Regions from separate parts of the Homo sapiens genome. Here region 1 is linked to region 2. The links are contacts of gene promoters, found by promoter capture Hi-C in blood cells and fetal thymus (Javierre and others, 2016). All regions are on one chromosome and are shown on one strand. Each heading gives the region's core, a stretch centred on a gene start or on the middle of the fragment in contact. The rest is flanking DNA. Distances are from core to core; before and after follow the strand shown.

Region 1 (2,700 bases), core at 188-2,687, 180 kb after region 2:
CCCGCCCTGACTCTGACTAGCTTACAGTGAAGCTTTGGGAAGTTGTTTTCCGCTGAGCTCTTATTTTCTCATCCAGAAAATGAGGGGGTAGGATTTGGTGAGTTATAAAGTGCCTTCTAGCTCTAGCAGTCTGTGACTGGCCCTGCTCTTTCTGAGCAGATCAGTGAGGCAATGACCCCAAAGCGGGGCTGCCCAGAATCACCACAGGCTTCCTTTGGCTCTCCACCTTGCCCCAACCCCTCTGGCCACTGCTGCCTGGGGGTCTTTCTCCAGCTTGCCACATTCTTGCTCAAGTGTAGTTTAGCACCATGGATGGACAGCAGATTTGAATTTGAAATCAGCCCTAACATTAACTAGCTGGGTGACTTTTAGTAACTTTCTTTCTTTGAGCCTTAGTTGCCTCATCTATAAAACCAGAGTTGGACAAATAGATCAGCTTTGCTGGGGTTGATAACTTCAGGCCCTTTCAGGAGTCAGGTCCCTGTTATTCCAGGGCTAGGGGAGCACTCCAGCTCAGAACGTTACTCTGTAGCACAGGATGCGAATCATCCACTGATACCGTGGCCATGCAACTCTGAAACAGACAGCAACCCCCAAACCCCCGGCCCTGCCACCAAGCACATCTCAGGAGACCTCCACTGGTATAATTTCCCTTGTCCCTAAGAATCTCCTTCCCCAATCCCTTTCCTTTGCAGTTAGAAAAAGGCAAGCAGGACTGAGTTTAGTGGTTTTAAAATTAGGGGTGTGGCCAGGCACAGTGTCTCATGCCTGTAATTCTAGCACTTTGGGAGGCCTAAGCAGGCGGATCACTTGAGCTTAGCAGTTCAAGACCACCATGGGCAACATGGCAAAATCCTGTCTCTACAAAAAAATACAAAAGTTAGCTGGTCATAGTGGTGTGCCTGTGGTCCCAGCTACTCAGGAGGCTAAGGGGGAGGATGGCTTGAGTCTGGGAGGCTGGGAGGTGGAGGTTGCAGTGAGCCGAGATAACACCACCACACTCCAGCCTAGGTGACAGAGCCAGACCCTCTCAAAATAATAGTAATAAATAATAATAAAGTTAGGGGTGATCAGGCCCTGAACAGGGAAATGTTCTGTCCAAGGTCACAGAGCAAAGAGAACCCAGGTGTCCACAACTCAGCCAAGAGTCTTGACCCCTGTGTCGTCAGCTGCACACACGCTGCACACTCCACCAGCTCCTAGGCTTCTCTCCACATCTGACTTATCGAGGCCTGGGCTGTGGGTAGCTTTTTGGACAGAAAGAAGCAGAAAGCAGCAGGAGCTGCTCTCCGAGGACCGCACCTCAAAGAGCAAGATCCCCCAGGTGGGATCGCTCTGAGGCTTCAGGCAGGGGAGGCTGGTTTGAAAGCCGATCTCCAAGAGGGCGTGGCTCCAAAATGCTGGCAAATAAAAGCCTGGAGAGCCAGCACCAAGCTGGAGACCAGCAGGAGGCACAGGAAAACTGCAAGCCGCTCTGTTCCTGGGCCTCGGAAGTGGTGAGCTCGCTGAGGCAGGAGGAGCTCTGGGGAGGGTCTGGGAATGTGGACGAGGGCCCTGCAGGCCAAGATGGGGCAGATGGAGGGAGGAAGATGTTTGCGCTCCAGATGGCGAAGAAAATTCCAGGGAAGGGAGAATCACTGCACAGAGGGCTGACACACAGGTCCTTTCCAGAGACAGCTGCTCACACTCACACCCATACACACACACACACACACACAAAGGCAGATACAGGGAAAAGGCAGCACCATTCAGGCACACCTCACCTGTCAGACCAGCCAGCCCTGGCTCACTCACCTGGAATGCAGTATTTAAAGAACTCGCCATCCCACCTGCACACCCACGTAGAGACATCTCCCCACTGTGTTTCAGATGCCTATGGCGTCCCCTCAAACCCTGGTCCTCTATCTGCTGGTCCTGGCAGTCACTGAAGCCTGGGGCCAGGAGGCAGTCATCCCAGGCTGCCACTTGCACCGTGAGTACCTCTGGGACCGGAGGGCTAGGAGCAGTGGAGGTTCTGGGTGGGAGCAAAGAGCTGAGTGGACGGTGGGGCAGGCAGCACCCTAAAGGGCCCCACACTGAGGCACAGGCAACGGGAGCTGGGGCGAGGCAAACCTTGGCAGAGGCGCCGTCTACTGCTTGCCTATCTCCTTCTAGCCTTCAATGTGACAGTGCGAAGTGACCGCCAAGGCACCTGCCAGGGCTCCCACGTGGCACAGGCCTGTGTGGGCCACTGTGAGTCCAGCGCCTTCCCTTCTCGGTACTCTGTGCTGGTGGCCAGTGGTTACCGACACAACATCACCTCCGTCTCTCAGTGCTGCACCATCAGTGGCCTGAAGAAGGTGAGGAGGGCCCGGGCCCGGTGGATGGACGCTGGGGTCGCGGGAAGACCAGAGAGATGGAGATCCTAGACAGCCCTGAGAAAGGGGACTGCAGCACGGACTCCCCTCTCCCGCAGGTCAAAGTACAGCTGCAGTGTGTGGGGAGCCGGAGGGAGGAGCTCGAGATCTTCACGGCCAGGGCCTGCCAGTGTGACATGTGTCGCCTCTCTCGCTACTAGCCCATCCTCTCCCCTCCTTCCTCCCCTGGGTCACAGGGCTTGACGTTCTGGTGGGGGAAACCTGTGTTCAAGATTCAAAAACTGGAAGGAGCTCCAGCCCTGATGGTTACTTGCTATGGAATTTTTTTAAATAAGGGGAGGGT
Region 2 (2,894 bases), core at 260-2,759:
CTGTGGTGTTAAAGACATGGTTTCTGCCTTCCAGCAGTTTAGAAAGGGGGAGGATGTGGACAGATACAATAGCATCCCAGAGAGGGCCTCTTTTTTTGTTTTTCTTTTTTCTTTATTTTATTTTATTGAGACAGAGTCTCGCACTGTCGCCAGGCTGGAGTGCAGTGGCACAATCCGAGCTCACTGCAACCTCAGCCTCCCGGGTTCACGCCATTCTCCTGCCTCAGCCCCCTGAGTAGCTGGGACTACAGGCATGTGCCACCACGCCCAGCTAATTTTTGTATTTTTAGTAGACATGGGGTTTCCCCATGTTGGCCAGGATGGTCTCGATCTCTTGACCTCGTGATCGCCCACCTCGGCCTCCCAAAGTACTGGGATTACAGCCATGAGCCACAGTGCCCGGCCTTTTCTTTTTTGTTTTTGAGACAAGGTCTCTCTCATCCAGGCTGGAGTGCAGTTGCACAATCATGGCTCACTGCAGCCGCCAACTCCTGGGCCCAGGTGATCCTACTCAGCCTCCAAAGTAGCTGAGGACTACAGGCATGCACCGCCACACCTGGCTAATTTTTTGTACTTTTTTGTAGAGACAGGGTTTTGCTATGTTGCCCAGGCTGGTCTTGAACTGGGCTCAAGTGATCCGCCCACCTTGGCCTCCCAAAGTGCTGAGATTACAGGTGTCAGCCGCTGTGCCCAGCCGAGAGGTCCTGTTTAAATGACGTGAGTGAGACCTGAGATGAACCAGTCAAGTGATCAGGTAGGGGAATATTTCAAGCCTAGAGGACTGTGTGAAGATGGGGAAGAGGTGATGTCTAGGGCTGGGGGCGGGCAGATCCTGCAAGGCCTTGTCAGCCATAGAGAGGAGTTTGGGTTTGAGTCCAAGTGCAATGGAGGGTCGCAGAAGGGTTTTGAGTAACAGATGGATCTCATCTGACTTGTGATCTAATTTCTCTGGCAGGTTTTTCTGGAGGGCTGGCAAGAAAGTTAGGAAAAACACTTAATGTGTTGTCATCCACATGAGGGGTCAGGAAGCTTAGACCACCAGTAGTAGCAGGGATGCAAAGAACACTCACAGTTTGGTTCATCACACCCCCCACTCCACCACAAGAGTGAGCTCTATTAGAACAGGGACCCCCGGCTCCCTTTGATGTGCATTGTGTTCTTGGCACCTAGAATGGGGCCTGCACTTAATAAGATGGATGAATAGTGGTATTTAATGAGAAGATACTTAATGAAAAGAAGAGGCAGTTTTGGAGGAAAAAAATCATAGGAGCTCAGATATTTCTTAAATGCTGCTTTCTATTTATCTTTTTGAGGTGGAGTTTCTCTCTGTGGCCCAGGCTCGCAGGCTGGAGAGCGGTGGCGCGATCTCGGCTAACTGCAGCCTCCACCTCCCGGGTTCAAGCGATTCCCCTGCCTCAGCCTCAGGAGTAGCTGGGACTACAAGCACCCGTCCCCCACGCCCGGCTAATTTTGTATTCTTAGTAGAGACGGGGTTTCTCCATGTTGGTCAGGCTGGTCTCAAACTCCTGACCTCAGGTCATCTGCCCGCCTCGGCCTCCCAAAATGCTGGGATTACCGGCGTGACCCACCGTACCTGGCCCTAACTGTCCTTTTATTTGTCTGTGTCCCCTAGTGCATTTTATTTGTCTGTGTCCAGCGCAGGGATGCATCGCCTCCCGTAGGCTTGGCACAATTAGTGGCCCAGAGTAGGTGCCTAGTAAAGATGGATTTATGCCACAGCACATTGTAGTGCTAAAAAGAGGGTTTTCTCTTTAGATGATCGGGCCACGTTTTGGTGTGACCACTAGGGGGAGACGTGGCACCGGCGAAGCGCTCGCCAGACCCATTTTTTCGCTCCTTGCGTCATCGCATAGGGCGGGGCTCGTACCTGACGCCCGGCTTCTGGGCCTGCTCTCGCCCTACTAGGGAAAGGGGTGGGGCTTGGCTTTCGGGCGTGGGCGGAAATTGCCGAGAATCCTCGGAAGCTTTGCGAAAACACAGCGCGCCGTCGGCCGCGCTGCGAACCGGAAGTAATCGAAGAAGCCCCGGAAGTTTCGAACTACCACCGGCGTGCGTTCGCAGGTAGATCGCGGTGCCAGTTGCCATGGAGCCGGCCGGGCCCTGTGGCTTCTGCCCGGCGGGGGAGGTCCAGCCAGCGCGTTACACCTGCCCTCGCTGTAATGCGCCCTACTGCTCGCTGCGCTGCTACCGGACGCATGGCACCTGCGCAGAAAACTTCTACCGTGACCAGGTGCTGGGAGAGCTCCGCGGTTGCAGCGCTCCTCCCAGCCGCCTAGCAAGCGCCCTACGCCGGCTGCGTCAGCAACGCGAGACCGAGGACGAGCCTGGGGAAGCAGGCCTCAGCTCCGGCCCGGCGCCCGGCGGCCTATCGGGACTCTGGGAGCGGCTGGCGCCGGGCGAAAAAGCTGCCTTCGAGCGGCTGCTGAGCCGCGGTGAGGCCGGGCGGCTGCTGCCTCCATGGCGGCCGTGGTGGTGGAACCGCGGAGCCGGACCGCAGCTTCTGGAGGAGCTGGATAATGCCCCGGGTAGTGACGCCGCGGAGCTGGAGCTCGCCCCTGCGAGGACCCCGCCGGATTCTGTGAAAGATGCCTCCGCCGCGGAGCCCGCGGCCGCCGAGCGGGTTCTTGGAGATGTCCCGGGGGCCTGCACGCCCGTCGTACCCACCCGCATCCCCGCGATAGTCAGCCTGAGCCGCGGCCCAGTCTCGCCGCTCGTGCGCTTCCAGCTGCCCAATGTGCTGTTCGCCTACGCGCATACTCTCGCCCTGTATCACGGCGGTGACGACGCGCTGCTCTCTGACTTCTGTGCCACACTGCTCGGCGTTTCCGGAGCCCTGGGTGCCCAGCAAGTCTTCGCCTCTGCGGAAGAAGCCC

What was found. Contacts are between HindIII fragments. The CHiCAGO score rates a contact against its expected background, and 5 or more counts as called.
Region 1: the fragment with the promoter of GPHA2 here is called in contact with a fragment that was not itself captured in region 2 in 1 of 17 cell types (M0 macrophages); the score reaches 5.6 in M0 macrophages.

What each region holds. Positions count from the first base shown.
Region 1 is chr11:64,934,630-64,937,329 of GRCh38, reverse strand. It overlaps GPHA2 (glycoprotein hormone subunit alpha 2), which reads left to right and starts at 1,437. Exons shown (of 4, transcript NM_130769.4): 1 at 1,437-1,496; 2 at 1,870-1,972; 3 at 2,155-2,339; 4 at 2,456-2,700. The coding sequence starts at 1,870. The coding sequence ends at 2,557. The HindIII fragment of the contact is 3,228 bases long and covers 35-2,700 here.
Region 2 is chr11:65,116,864-65,119,757 of GRCh38, reverse strand. It overlaps ZNHIT2 (zinc finger HIT-type containing 2), which reads left to right and starts at 2,057. Exons shown (of 1, transcript NM_014205.4): 1 at 2,057-2,894. The coding sequence starts at 2,105. RefSeq lists enhancers at 1,807-2,101, 2,094-2,637. The HindIII fragment of the contact is 956 bases long and covers 1,032-1,987 here.